Regions from separate parts of the Homo sapiens genome. Here regions 1 and 2 are each linked to region 3. The links are contacts of gene promoters, found by promoter capture Hi-C in blood cells and fetal thymus (Javierre and others, 2016). All regions are on one chromosome and are shown on one strand. Each heading gives the region's core, a stretch centred on a gene start or on the middle of the fragment in contact. The rest is flanking DNA. Distances are from core to core; before and after follow the strand shown.

What was found. Contacts are between HindIII fragments. The CHiCAGO score rates a contact against its expected background, and 5 or more counts as called.
Region 1: a fragment that was not itself captured here is called in contact with the fragment with the promoter of BORCS6 in region 3 in 11 of 17 cell types (non-activated CD4 T cells, naive B cells, naive CD4 T cells and 8 more); the score reaches 11.6 in non-activated CD4 T cells.
Region 2: a fragment that was not itself captured here is called in contact with the fragment with the promoter of BORCS6 in region 3 in 1 of 17 cell types (erythroblasts); the score reaches 6.3 in erythroblasts.

Annotation. Positions count from the first base shown.
Region 1 is chr17:8,300,011-8,304,716 of GRCh38, reverse strand. LOC124903915 (a long non-coding RNA gene) reads left to right here. Exons shown (of 2, transcript XR_007065606.1): 1 at 1-26; 2 at 3,045-3,329. LOC124903914 (a long non-coding RNA gene) reads right to left here and starts at 716. Exons shown (of 2, transcript XR_007065605.1): 1 at 268-716. RefSeq lists a cis regulatory region at 1-202. The HindIII fragment of the contact is 3,846 bases long and covers 618-4,463 here.
Region 2 is chr17:8,059,391-8,064,182 of GRCh38, reverse strand. No RefSeq gene overlaps it. Among named protein-coding and RNA genes, the nearest start is that of ALOX15B, 23 kb to the right of the region's middle. The HindIII fragment of the contact is 6,181 bases long and covers 1-4,452 here.
Region 3 is chr17:8,187,415-8,191,692 of GRCh38, reverse strand. BORCS6 (BLOC-1 related complex subunit 6) reads left to right here and starts at 1,513. Exons shown (of 1, transcript NM_017622.3): 1 at 1,513-3,348. The coding sequence starts at 1,553. The coding sequence ends at 2,626. LOC124903913 (a long non-coding RNA gene) reads left to right here. Exons shown (of 2, transcript XR_007065604.1): 2 at 1-418. TRI-AAT5-5 (tRNA-Ile (anticodon AAT) 5-5) reads right to left here and starts at 4,100; the gene lies at 4,027-4,100. RefSeq lists enhancers at 1,054-1,699, 1,442-1,721, 1,700-2,346, 3,485-3,534 and silencers at 1,832-1,881, 2,082-2,141, 2,212-2,261. The HindIII fragment of the contact is 3,696 bases long and covers 422-4,117 here.

The DNA of each region.
Region 1 (4,706 bases), core at 1,291-3,790, 110 kb before region 3:
AGCCTCCCTCTGGCCACGTGACTCAGGTTTGTTCAATCACAGTGCCGTATTCCTCTGGCCACAGAGACTGGTCCAGGAATGAGCAGGTCAGGACAGACTCCAGGAGAAAGAGAAGCTTCTGGGCCTCTGAGAAAGAGAAGCTTTCTCTTTCCTCCAAGCTCACAAGGCAGGAACAATCTAAGTCAGGAGCTGTCTATACCTTGGCCTACTTCCTTCCCCTGGAAAAGGAGGAAGCCAGTCAACAGTGGGAGAAAATGAGCCCCATACCTGAGGGAAGCAGAGCCAAGAGAGGGAGGAAGCCTGGCGGTGGCGCATGCCTGTAGTCTCAACTACTCCAGAGGCTGAGGCAGGAGGATCACTTGAGCCCAGGAGTTCGAGGCTGCAGTGAACCAAGACCACGCCCCTGCACTCCAGCCTGGGTGACAGAGCAAAAAAAAAAGCTGGGGATTACAATGATATTTGAGTCCCTTGGACCTCCCAGCTTCCAGAGGCATGACATTCCCTTTTGCGCTTGAGCTGGTTTTAGCTGGTTTTCTGTCACTTACTGCTGAAAGAACCTTGACCATTACAATTTATCCCCTAGTGCAGAACTGGGAGACAGTCCTCCTAGGGAAGCTTACACTCTTTACCATTACAAATAATTAGTGCAGCCGGGCGTGGTGGCTCACACCTGTAATCCCAGCACTTTGGGAGGCTGAGGCAGGCAGATCACTTAAGGTCAGGAGTTCATGACCAGCCTGGACAACAAGATGAAACCCCGTCTCTACTAAAAATACAAAAATTAGCCAGGCATGTTGGCACAAGCCTGTAATACCAGCTACTCAGGAGGCTGAGGCCAGAGAATGGCTTGAACCCAGGAGGCGGAGGTTGCAGTGAGCCAAGATCACACGATTGTACTCCAGCCTGGGCGACGGAGCGAGAATCCGTCTCAAAAAAAAAAAAAAAAAAAAGACTTCAATTTGAAGTCTTTTTGAAGTATTATTATTATTATTATTATTTGAGACAGAGTCTTGCTCTGTTGCCCAGGCTGGAGTGTAGTGGTGCAATCTCGGCTCACTGCAACCTCCGCCTCCTGGGCTCAAGCCATTCTCCTGCCTCAGCCTCCCGAGTAGCTGGGACTACAGGCGCCCGCCACCACGCCTGGCTAACTTTTTGTAGAGACGGGATTTCACCATATTGGCCAGGCTGGTCTTGAACTCCTAATCTTGTGATCCTCCCGCCTCAGGCTCCCAAAGTGCTGGGATTACAGGCGTGAGCCACCACGCCCGGCCTGAAATATTATTAATGAAGTAACCCTAGGAGCTTCAATGTGACTGGTTTAGACTTTGCTTGGAGAGTCTGTTCTGGAAGGATGAAGGAGCCCATAAGCGTCTGCTCCATCTCTTTGTGTCCACACCCAGCAGCCTCCTTCGGTCTTCCTCATGTCATTGACCTGTTGGTTGGAAAAAGTGGGTGTCAGGGAGAAGAGGCACTTTGACTGTTCATTTAAAATCAGGCAGAGGGGTTTAGCCAAGCCAAGAGGCAGGGCATGAAGGAGCATTGTGGGAATCCAGGGAAGCGCAGGCACAGCGAAGAGGAAAGTAGGCACGTCTGGAGAACCGTGAAAGGGAAACAAACTGATCTGAAATGAAAAGAGGGACACATGGAGGCCATATCGTGAGCAATCACACCGGGCAGACAGGCCCTGAAGGTTTCAGAGCAGAGTAGGGGGAGTGGATCACGATAGTTTTTGTTTGTTTGTTTGTTTGTTTTTGAGACAGGGTCTTAAAATCGCCTTTGTAAAGTTATAACTGAGGAAATTATGACAGTGAAAGAAATCAGACCTCACCAGTTCCATGTTGCTTCTAATCTTTAAGCTGTCCTTGTTCATTCCTCAGCGTAGGCTGAACTAACTTTGGGAAGGAATTCAGTTCATGGTTTGACTCTGAAACAAAATTGTTAATAGTCCTTAACTGAAAAGACCCCCTTCTTGCCTGGGGACCAGTCTGCCTTTGCAGGACTAACAAATTGACAGATTAGCTACAAGATTATAAATTAGTTTGGGGGTCATGCAGCCGCTGGCTCTATGAATCAGCTGATACCACCCAGACCTTAATCTGGCACCACCTGTTCTGTCATCACACCCAGGAACAGAAGACAGCAAGAAAACCTCACTTCGACCCCCTGCAATTCCATCTCCAACCTGACCAATCAGCACTCCCCACTTCCCAAGTCCCTACCCGCCAAATGATCTTTAAAAACTCTGATTCTGGTAGCCGGGTGCGGTGGCTCAAGCCTCTAATCCCAGCACTTTGGGAGGCTGAGGCGGGCAGATCACGACGTCAGGAGATCGAGACCATCCTGGCTAACACGGTGAAACCCCGTCTCTACTAAAAGTACAAAAAATTAGCCGGGCGTGGTGGCGGGGGCCTGTAGGCCCAGCTACTGGGGAGGCTGAGGCAGGAGAATGGCGTGAACCCGGGAGGCGGAGCTTGCAGTGAGCCAAGATGGCGCCATTGCACTCCAGCCTGGGCGACAGAGCGAGACTCCGTCTCAAAAACAAACAAACAAACAAACAAACAAACAAAAAACTGATTCTGCTTGGGGAGACTGATTTGAGTAATAATGTAATAAAACTCCCGTTTCGGCTGGGCACAGTGGCTTATGCCTGTAATCCCAGCACTTTGGGAGGCCGAGGTTGGCAGATCACGAGGTCAGGAGTTCAAGGCCAGCCTGGCCAACATGGTGAAACCCTGTCTCTACTAAAAATACAAAATATTAGCCGGGTGTGGTGGCGCACGCCTGTAGTCCCAGCTACTCGGGAGGCTGAGACAGGAGAATCGCTTGAACCCAGGAGACAGAGGTTGCAGTGATCAGAGACCATGCCATTACACTCCAGCCTGGGTGACAAAGCGATACTCCGTCTCAAAAAAAAAATAAATAAATAAGATTTGGTTTAGGAGTCATGCAGCTGGAGGCTGCAAGATTCTGAACCTCCCCAAATTGCTCCTGGGGATAACATCATTCTTGTAAAACCTAAGATGAGTGCTTGTGATATTTTGCAGACCCTGCACTCAAAGCATCATCTGGCAACACCCGGATCAATAAACTGGTTCATCTGTTCTTGTGGCCCCCACCCAGGAACCGACCCAGTGAAAGAGGAGAGTTTCAACTCCCTGTGATTTCGTCTCCCACCTAACCAATTAGCACTCCCCACTTTCTGACCCCCTACCCACCAAATTATCAAAAACCCTGATCTCTGAATTTTCAGGGAGATTGACTTGAGTAATAATCAATTTTGCATGTGGCATGGCCGGCCTCGTGTCAATTAAACTCTTTCTTTACTGCAATGCCGTGGTCTTTATTTGTGCAGAGGACAGGAAGAGCCCACTGGGCAGTTACATTTCCACTGAGGATGCTAAGCTGGTGGAATATGGGCCTGCAGCTGCTAGTGGCCATCAGTGAGGTGGCCTGAGAATAAAACCGATACATGGCAGAGGTGGAGAGAGACAGATTTGAGTGCCTGATTCTGCTGGCCTGAAGTCATGTGTGTGTCTGGAGCTTTCAGTTGTGTGAGTCAATGAGTTCCCTTTTTGTAAGCTAGTTTGAGTTGGATTTCTGTCACTTACAACAAAACAATCCCTTATAAAGGGAGCTTCTAATAAAAGAAGTGTTGAGTCCAGCTCCCTCCGGTAGGGCCAGGACTTGGAAGTCCAGTAGACTCTTTCATGGAGCACAGAACACCTGGGCCTCATTTCTGTCTGCAAAGCTGTTAATGTAGGTAGCCTGCCTGTGATGGGGGATAAATCAGGAAGAAGCAGTAAGGAAAAGCTGGCCTGCTCTGGGAATTTATACAGGTTTTGGCCCAGGTGAGGATACACAGAGACGATCCTTCCTCACCACCACTAGGTGGAGTTTGAGCACTTCGGGTGCGCGCTCAGCAGCCAAAAGGAACCCATCAGTGTCTAGGCTACCAAGGAAGAGGCAAGAAAGACACAGCCCCCTGCCCTCCAAGCCTCCCCGTCTTTCTCGCTCCCTCTCTATGTTACCACCCCTTCTTTCAGACACCTGGGGACTTTTACGTTCCCTATGCAACTCCTCTCAAATCTGATTCATGACATTCACATCCAGGAAAAAATGGTAACAGCCTACAATAAATCAAGACAGCATGATATTGGTCAAAGGCTAGACACACAGATCAAGGGAACAGAAGTGAGGGCACAGAAATCGAGCCACACAAATATAGAAAACAGATTTTTTACAAAGGACCAAAGGAAGAAGAAGAAAGAAGAAGGAGAAAAAGAAGAAGAAGGAGAAGAAGAGGAGGAAGAGGAAGAAGACGACGAAGGAGGAGGAGGAGGAAAGAAGAAAGAAGAAAAGAGAGAGGAGGATGAGAAGAAACCAAACCCAGACCTCACATAATTTACAAAAATTAACTCAAAATGGATCATAGACCTAAATGTAAAAAGTAAAACTATAAAGCTTCTAGAAGAAAACATAAAAGAAAATCTAGGTGACCTTGGGCCTAATTATACATTTTTGGGTTTTTTTTGTTTGTTTGTTTTGTTGTTGTTGTTGTTGTTGTTTTTTGAGACGGAGTCTAGCTCTGTTGCCCAGCTGGAGTGCAGTGGTGCGATCTCGGCTCGCTGCAAACTCCGCCTCCTGGGTTGAAGTGATTCTCCTGCTTCAGCCTCCCGAGTAGCTGGGATTACAGGTGCCCGCCACCA
Region 2 (4,792 bases), core at 113-2,612, 130 kb after region 3:
CGGAGGGGGTCCCCAGCAGCCTCAGCTGGACCCAGCGGCAGACCCCGGAGTCTGGGCCGGACCTAGAGGGGGCGAGGCAGCGTGGCGGGGGGCGGGGGGCGGAGGGGGTAGGGGTGAGGTGGGGGAGGCGGGGAGGCCGGCGGGGGGAGGGGTGGCAGAGGGGAGGGGAGGCGGGGGACGCCTTGTGCAAACGCAGCAGCAGCACCTGGCCCGAGTCCTCAGGGAGCGTCACCTGGAGGTCTTCCTTTCGGGGGGCGGGGGAGTGGGCAGAGGGAGAAGGCATAGTAAAGAGTGGCTTATTACCTTTTGTTCCCCAGGACGCTTCCCCTTTCCACACTCTCATTCCGGAGGTCGCCATAAGCAACTTCCACAATTCTGGATGTTCCAGACCCACGACCGGACTAATTTTTGGTGGAGGGGGAGCAGTATCTTTATCTTCCCACTTTAATGGGTATGTTGATTCAAATCTTCTAACTAAAGTGGGGGGATTATATGGATCATTTCTATATTCGATCATAAAGGAGTCCCCAGCGCACCCAGCGTTTTGTCCGGTGCAATTTCTAGCAAAAGATTCCTTAGGAGCCCAGTCTATAATGACCCCATGAGAACCATTTCGCAAAACTACCGCATTATCTGCCACACAAACCTCCCAAGTAAGAATTTCTCATTTTTCTGACCATTCTGGATTCCTTTTAGGGCAAGCCAATCCCTTAGGCTTGCAATTTTGGACTTTTATATTTGACTGATAATAACTATCCCCTTAAGTTTTTACAGTCCTGATGGGTTGAAAAGACATTCCACTCACTACGTGATAACTAGGTTGAGAACGATTATGAGGAGGTACGTAGACCATCCAACTTTGTATTTGTAATGGCAAACATCCAGGAGCAATTCCTAAACAAACTGGAGGGTATTTATACCCAATTATCCCATTCATTAACATGCCCTCCTCCTCAGGCTATGCAGGACAGCTATCATAAGTCGGCCCAGGCATCCAGATACTACCATTTGTATAAACTTCAGTAGGGGAGTCCATCCAAGTGACAGGTCTAATCAAAGGAGGAAATGGAACATAAGCCCAGTAGTAAAATTTTGCTTAGCTGAAACAGCAGAGAGACTTACCGCCGTGGTGATTACCATCAAGGCAGCCAAGATCATATTACCCGGTGTAATCGCTAGTTGTTTCTCCTTTAGGGTGTCCTCTGCCAATTGAGTCAGCTTCTTTATCTGTCCCCATGTCAGTGGTGTAGCCTAGCGAGTCTTCTCCGTCTTCTGTTTTTTCTCCGAGACGCTCAGCTTCACCATTTTCCTCAGCTCCCGAAAAGACAGGTCGAAGGGACCGGTCTTCTTTCTCTTTTGATTCTTTCCTTTTTTCTGACCGGTCGGTGTAGGGTTCATTGTAGAATTTTAAATGTCTATTGGGTATCCAAATGAGTGTTTGATTGTCTCTTGGTGAAACACAAGGAAAACCCCTCCCCCAAGTAATACTTTTTCTTAATTTCCAAGTTTTGGTTCTGGTATCCTTCCACCAGACCATTTTTCCTTTCTGTGGCACACCCATGACTGCAAAACAAGATAATAAATGTCGTTTTACGTGAGCTGTGCTTTCTCCAGTTTGGCGTGTAGCCCAGATAAACCGAGAAAAAGTATTAACAGTAACATGTACGAAAGAAAGTTTTCCGAATGATGGGACATGAGTCATGTCCATTTGCCACACTGCATTTGGTTGAAGCCCCCTAGGGTTACCTTCAGGTTTTTGGGTGGGTAGCTGTAGCACTTGGCACTGAGGATGTTGTACTATATTTTTAGCTTGTTTCCAGGTAAATGAATATTTATTTTTTAATCCAGCAGCATTTACATGAATTAGGGAATGGAAGTTTTGAGCTTTTGTTCGCGTCTGTGTGAAGAGACCACCAAACAGGCTTTGTGTGAGCAACAAGGCTGTTTATTTCACCTGGGTGCAGGTGGGCTGAGTCCGAAAAGAGAGTCAGCGAAGGGAGATAGGGGTGGGGCCCTTTTATAGGATTTGGGTAGGTAGTGGAAAATTACAGTCAAAGGGGGTTGTTCTCTGGCGGGCAGGGGCGGGGGTTGCAAGGTGCTCAGTAGGGGAGCTTCTGAGCCAGGAGAAGGAATTTCACAAGGTAATGTCATCAGTTAAGGCAGAAACCAGCCATTTTCACGTCTTTTGTGATTCTTCAGTTGCTTCAGGGCATCTGGATGTATACGTGCAGGTCATAGGGGATATGATGGCTTAGCTTGGGCTCAGAGGCCGGACACTGTTAGAACAGGCGTCACTAATAAATTTGCTTGATTATTTAATAGGGTTAAAGGTCCTGGTAAGTTTGTGTGAGCCTAAATATGTGTAATATAAAAGGGAAAATTTTGAGTCCTAACTGCTTGTTGAAGTGAACTAAACAAGAAATTTAACTGATCATCAGAAATATGTTTTACTAAAGCTGTTTTTACCATTTTGGCAGCTTGGAATACGTAAGCAGAGTCAGAGATTATATTAACAGGTTGATTACAATCTTCCAATACAGATATAACTGCTTGTAGCTCAGCTCTTTGTGCAGAATGAAACTGAGTTTGAATAATCTTTTCTTCCGGTCCTGTATAAGCTGCTTTTCCATTCTGAGAGCCATCAGTAAAGATAGTTACGGCTCCCTCCAAAGGAATGGAACTAGTTATTTTGGGTAAAATTTAGGTAGTCAATTTTTAGGAACTGAAACATTTTAGTTTTAGGGTAATGAATATCTATACTGCCAACAAAATCAGCCAGATTTGACTGCCATTCTGACGAATTAATAAAGGCTTGTCGAACCTGTGCTTTGTTTAAAGGAACTACATTTTTATCTCGATCGGTGCCAATGAGTCTGACTATTCTCAGTTGTATTTGGCCTATAAGAATAGCTATTTGATCTAAATAAATTGAGAAAGTTCTAGTCGTACTGTGCGTTAAAAAGGACAATTTAACTAAGTCAACATTTTGAACAATCACTCCTATAGGAGAATGGAGAGTAGGGAACACTAAGAGCTGTAATGGAACACTAGGATCTCTTCTACGGACTTGAGCACTTTGAATTTTTTCCTCAATCATTTGTAACTCTTCAGCTGCAGCAGGCATCAGAGTTCTTTTGCTACATGAATTTGGATCCCATCTCAGCAAAGCAAACAGTTTAGACATTGCTTAGGTGGGAATTCCTAAAGTAGGTCTTATCCAATTAACGTCCCCTAATAATTTTTGGAAATCATTTAAGGTTTTTAAGGACTCTTTACGAATTTCCTCCTTTTGAGGCTTTACTGTTTTCTCCTGTACCCTCATTCCCAGGTAATGATAGGGTGTAGTATGGATTTTATCTGGTGCTATAGCGAGACCTGTAAGTCCCACCACTTCTTGTAGCCTAGCAAAACACTCAATCCGTCTGTCCCTGCTTGCAGCAGCACATAAAATGTCATCAACATAATGAATAATATAGCAATCAGGAAACTGATCCCTGACAAGCTGAATAACCTTTCCAACAAAAGTTTGACTATTTAACATTCCTTGGGGTACAACTTTCCATCGATATATAGTAGCTGGTTCCTTGTTATTCATGGCAGGTATTGTAAATGCAAATTTCTCAAAATCCTGAGGAGCCAAAGGAATAGTAAAAAACACAATCTTTTAGATCAATTATTACCATCGGCCATTCTTTTGGGATCATGGCCGGAGATGGCAACCCTGGTTGGAGAGCTCCCATCGGTTGAATGGCTGCGTTAACCGCTCATAAGTCGGTCAATATGCGCCATCTAGCGAATTTTTTCTGAATTACAAAAACTGGGGCGTTCCATGGTGAAAAAGATGGTTCAATATGTCCTTTGTCTAATTGTTCTTTTGCCAATGAATGTAATGCCTCCAGTTTTTGTTGAGGAAGCGGCCACTGATCAACCCAAACAGGTTTTGGAGTTTTCCGTTTTAATGCAATGGGCTTTGGAGGCTCAACAGTGGCCGCACCTAAGAAGGATATCCAATTCCTCTTCGGTCAAATTTAACTGAGACCTCAATCGGCTGGGTTATTCCGTCCTCATTTTTTTCCTAATCCTTTCCCAGGAATATATCCCATTTTGGTCATCATTCTTTGGCTCTCAGGACTGTAAATTGCAGGGGGAATGGTGATTTCTGTACCCCATTGCTGTAACAAATCTCTCCCCTACAAATTAATGGGAATGAAAGTAATCATAGGTTGGATGGTGACTTCCTGCCCATCTGGTCTTAAACGATGTAAAATTGTAGCACTTTGATAGACTTCAGATGCTGTGCCTACTCCAATCAAGCCCATAGAAGCCTTTTGTCGGGGCCACGCTTTTGGCCACTGATTTAGAGCTATAATTGAAATATTAGCACCTGTGTCTACCAGTCCTTCAAACTGTTTTCCCTGAATCATTGTGCACACAGGTCTGTTTTTAGAAGCTTGATTTACTCAATAGGCTGCTTTTCCTTCACTGTCAGTACTGCCAAAACCACTTTCTCTTTTTACTGTACTTTTTTCTACTATTACATAAGGTAATAACAACAGCTGAGCAATTCTATCTCCTGGGTTTGCACTCCAAGGAATACTGGAACTAATAACCAATTGAATTTCTCCCACAAAATCTGAATCAATCAGCCCAGTATGAATCTGAACTCCTTTTAAGTTTAGACTAGATGTTCCTAAAACAAGTCCAACTGTCCATCAGGTAAAGGGCCAAATACTCCAGTGGGGACTTTTTGAGGGGATTTCCCTGGAAGCAGAGAGATAGCTTTTGGGAAACA
Region 3 (4,278 bases), core at 264-2,763:
ATGGAAAAAACAACCACATCCTTTGTCAGCTAAGGAGAGTTAGCAAACTGTTTTTATTAAATACTGATGTCTGGCCGGGCACGGTGGCTCACGCCTGTCATGCTAGCACTTTGGGAGGCCGAGGCGGGTGGATCACTTGAGGCCAGTAGTTCAAGACCAGCCTGGCCAACATGGTGAAACCCCATCTCTACTAAAAATACAAAATTAGCCGGGCGTGGTGGCGGGCGCTTGTAATCCCAGCTACCCGGGAGACTGAGTTAGGAGAATCGCGTGAACCCAGGAGGCGGAGGTTGCAGTGAGCCGAGATCGCGCCACTGCACTCCAGCCTGGGTGACGGAGTGGGACTCTGTCTCTAAATACATAAATAAATAAATAAATAAATAAATAAATAAATAAATAAAAATACTGATGTCTCCAAGCTTTGGCTATGTGTTGCAATGTACAACCTTTCCAATGTCGCTGCACCATTGCATTTAGAGGAAATCTCCATTCCCTAACAGGAACTACAAGGCCCCCTGCATGACGTGGCCCCTGCTGCCTGTTCAGCTCCTTGGCTCGAAATCCTTCCCCTTATCTTGCTGATTTTGTTTTAGTCCCAATGTCTCCTGCCCCCTCACCTCAGTTTCTTGAATACGTCAAGACTTCTTTGTCTCTGAGAGGTAGCTCAAGTTTTCTTCTCTCTGCCTGGGGGGTGGCTGCGTCTTTTTGGTTCTTTTTAGTTAAAAGTCTCACCAAAGAGGTATTTTCCTGACCCCTTACCTAAACTAGTGCCTGCTCAGTTATATTCTCAATCATAACACTTTATTTCCTGTATAGCACATATCAAAATTTGTGATCATTTCATTTGTTGAATATTTTACCTCGTGGCAAAATCACACGCCATCCTCCAAGGGGCGAGACCCCTCAGTGTGAAAGGGGCAAGAGACACAGAACAAGAGTGACAAACGCATAGGAAAGCCCAGAGGCCGCTGCCTTGACCACAGTGGGTCGCTCTGAGCAGTTCAGTGGTTAGGTCTCTTAACCAAGAAAGATAGAGCAAACCATTCATGCTCATGCTGGACTTCTGGTTTCCTTCTTTTTAGTCAACTAGGTTCAACCCTGATGGTCCAAGAAGGATATGCCATTTTCATCCTAAGAACCTCTCTAGGAACCCCAAGTGGGCTCCCCACTTGGTATTTTTGCTAAGCAATCACTGTTGGGGGGGGTACAATTACAGGCAGAAAGGATCTGAGCCCCACCCCTCGGGACTCAGGAATTTGAGGACCTTGGTCTTTAAGATCTGCCCCATCAGCTTTCAGAAAGGGCGGGGCGACGGGAGCAGCTGTCACCTCCTTCTCTCCACCCTGCCGGCGTTCACGTGTGTTCCGCTGTGCAGTAACAGCTCTTCTTCCGGGACTTCCTGGTCGCCGCGACCAATCAAAATGCTTTTCCTGTCCTTACCATTGTCAGCCGCTGCCAATCGGCTCGCCTCTACCAACGCCCCTTAAAGGCGCAGCCACTGCCTCCGGAGCCGGGGCGAACCAATTCCTCCGTTGCGGCCCCCACCTGCAGTATGGAGTCGTCTCGGGGGCGGCCCGGGCCCGAGACGGACCTTCTGGCTGTAGCGGAACATCAGGCCCTAGTCTTTGGCGGCGGGCCGGGCCGAACGTCCTCTGAGCCGCCCGCAGGCCTCCGGGTGTCCGGGGAGGAAGAGACCGAGAACGTTGGGGGCGCGAACCGCCACCCCAGGACGTCCCCGAAGACGTCAAGCTGCGGCGTCGTCCACCGGCCGGAACGGGAGGCTCTGGAGAACGAGCCCGGCCCTCAAGGGACGCTGTCTGGGGCCGGGAGCCGCAGGGGGGCGCCGGGTGCAGAGCACGAACCTTCCCTGTCCTCCCGGCACAAGAACCCGGCGCCGCCCGAGGGCAAGCCCTCCTCCGGGAGGGACTGCCGTCGAGGGGGACCAGGCGGCGGGATGGATGTTGAGCAGCAGGAGGAGGAAGACAACGACGAGGAGGCGGCCGCGGGCAGCAGAGCCGGCCGCTCGTTCTCCAGCCGTCTTCAGGACAGCCGCAGCCTGGACGGGCTGAGCGAGGCGTGCGGTGGCGCCGGGTCCTCAGGGAGTGCCGAGTCCGGCGCGGGCGGCGGACGCCGCGCCACCATCTCCAGTCCCCTGGAGCTCGAAGGCACAGTGAGCCGCCACGGCGACCTTACCCACTTTGTCGCCAACAACCTGCAACTCAAGATCCGTCTGAGCGGCGCGCCTCCACCCCCGCCTTCTGCCCCTGCGCGGCCCTGCCCAGCGCCTGCACCCACACCCACACCGGCCATTCCCCCAATCGACCCCGAGGTGCTGCGGGATCTGGAGCGGTTGAGTCGGGAGCTGGGAGGCCGGGTGGACCGTCTGCTTCGCGGTCTGGGTGGCGCGGTGCAGGAGCTGACGGCGCTGAGCGTGGGTTGCATCCAGACCTACCGCGATGCTGTGGACTCCTTAGGTGAAGCCGTGGACATGAGCATCAAGGGCATGTACACCCTGCTGGCGCGCTGCGAGGAGCTGGAGCGGGCTCTGCAGCCGGTTCAGGGGCTGGCGCGCCAAGTCCGGGATATCCGACGTACTCTGGAGGTGTTGGAGGCCCTGTGCAAGTGACCAGGAGGACAGGAGAGGCCGGTCCTGGCCAGGGCAGGGCCCAGCAGGACCCTAAGGACTCTTCAGGGAGTCCTGGTGGGAAGTGCCCACTGAGGGGAGGCCTGTGTGTTGGAGGCTCTTCCAGATGCGTTCAGCTGGCCCGTGCCCACTCGCTGGGCCTTAGGCTGGTGTATGTGGGGAAGTTCTAACGGCTCTCCTGGTGGGAAGGGATGTTGCTCTGCTTGTATTCAGTTGGCCATCTGTAGCTACCCTGTTCTTCCCAACTCTCCTCCCTAGCTAGAGCACCAGCCCTGGGAACACGGGGCTTTAGGTCTGCTTGAAGGTGAGGACGTGACTCCCACATGTAATCAGGAGAAAGGGACAGAGGAAGCCCCAGCCCCCACTGTGGCTATCCTGACTCCAGTGGCCACATCTCAGGTGCCAGGGGCTGTGGGAGCTTGTGCCGTCCTTGGCCAAACACCCCGCAGGCAAAGATGCACCCCTGCTGATGGAGAGCCTTCTGCTTCTGCCCTCTGGCCCTCTACCATACCACTTCCCCAGCCAGAACCGGCGTGCAGCTAGGAGGAATGGGTTGCACGGCGGAGGGGGTGAGGTGGGAGGCGTCTCACTGCTCTCAGGGTTCAGGTAGAATGTTGCTGGTTTTGAAGCTCACCTGTTGTGGAGTGTTCTAATCAGTTTTGGCTTTCTGAGTTTTTGTGGAATTAAAGTGCTGCTGCTGCGAAGGCTGAGGCTGAGTCTGTGTGGGGTTGCAGTGATTAATAAGCCAAAGGAATGGGAATGAGGGTCGGTGTTGTTCACGCAGCTCCCTTGGGGCTGGTGCTGGGAGTGGGGTGGGGGTGGAGATGTCTCAGGCTCCGTGGGGAAAGATATGGTTCTTGCTCTTAAGCATCTGGTCTGAGGGGAAATGTGAGGACACAGATAATCACTCACAGGGGCCCAGAGATCCGGTAACCACAGAAACGTAAAAAAGATGCTCTAGAAGAGAAGGGGAAGAAATTGTCTTCTCAGGTCCTCATGAATAGGCAGGGGCTGGGTGGATTGGACGGACATCTTACCTCTGGGGGAAGACTGGGAACACTTGTCAGCTCTATTCCTGACCATTTCCCACACTCTGCAGATCAGTGCCACGTGGTTTGAGACAAATTTGTCCCAAAGCCTTTTGTTTACAGTTCACACAGTAAGTTCAGGAGCCATATATTGTGGCCATAAGATGTAGAAGCAAAGATCACGAAACAACCCCGGTTTCTCTCAATCCCTTCCTCTCAAGACACGCCCACTTTAGAATGCGCTCCAATACGCTCCCTGTTCTGGGATTGGAAATGTGGCGCTGTTTTTCCCCAGAGACGTTACTTGGCTCTAAAACGGAGTGCAGTAATCGTACTTTCGAAAAGTTTCAATCCTGGCCCGTACGGGGATCGAACCCGCGACCTTGGCGTTATTAGCACCACGCTCTAACCAACTGAGCTAACCGGCCAGTTGCTACGAAAAGCTTGAAATAAATCTATTTAGTTACAATACTGTTCAGTTCTCTCGGGAAAAACCTTCAGTTGTGGGACTGCTTTATGAGAAATGAAAACAGAACACAAACACTGACTAACTGAGCACCTAGACGAGTAACAGACAGTACTGGCAAGTACAGATGATGCGACTGG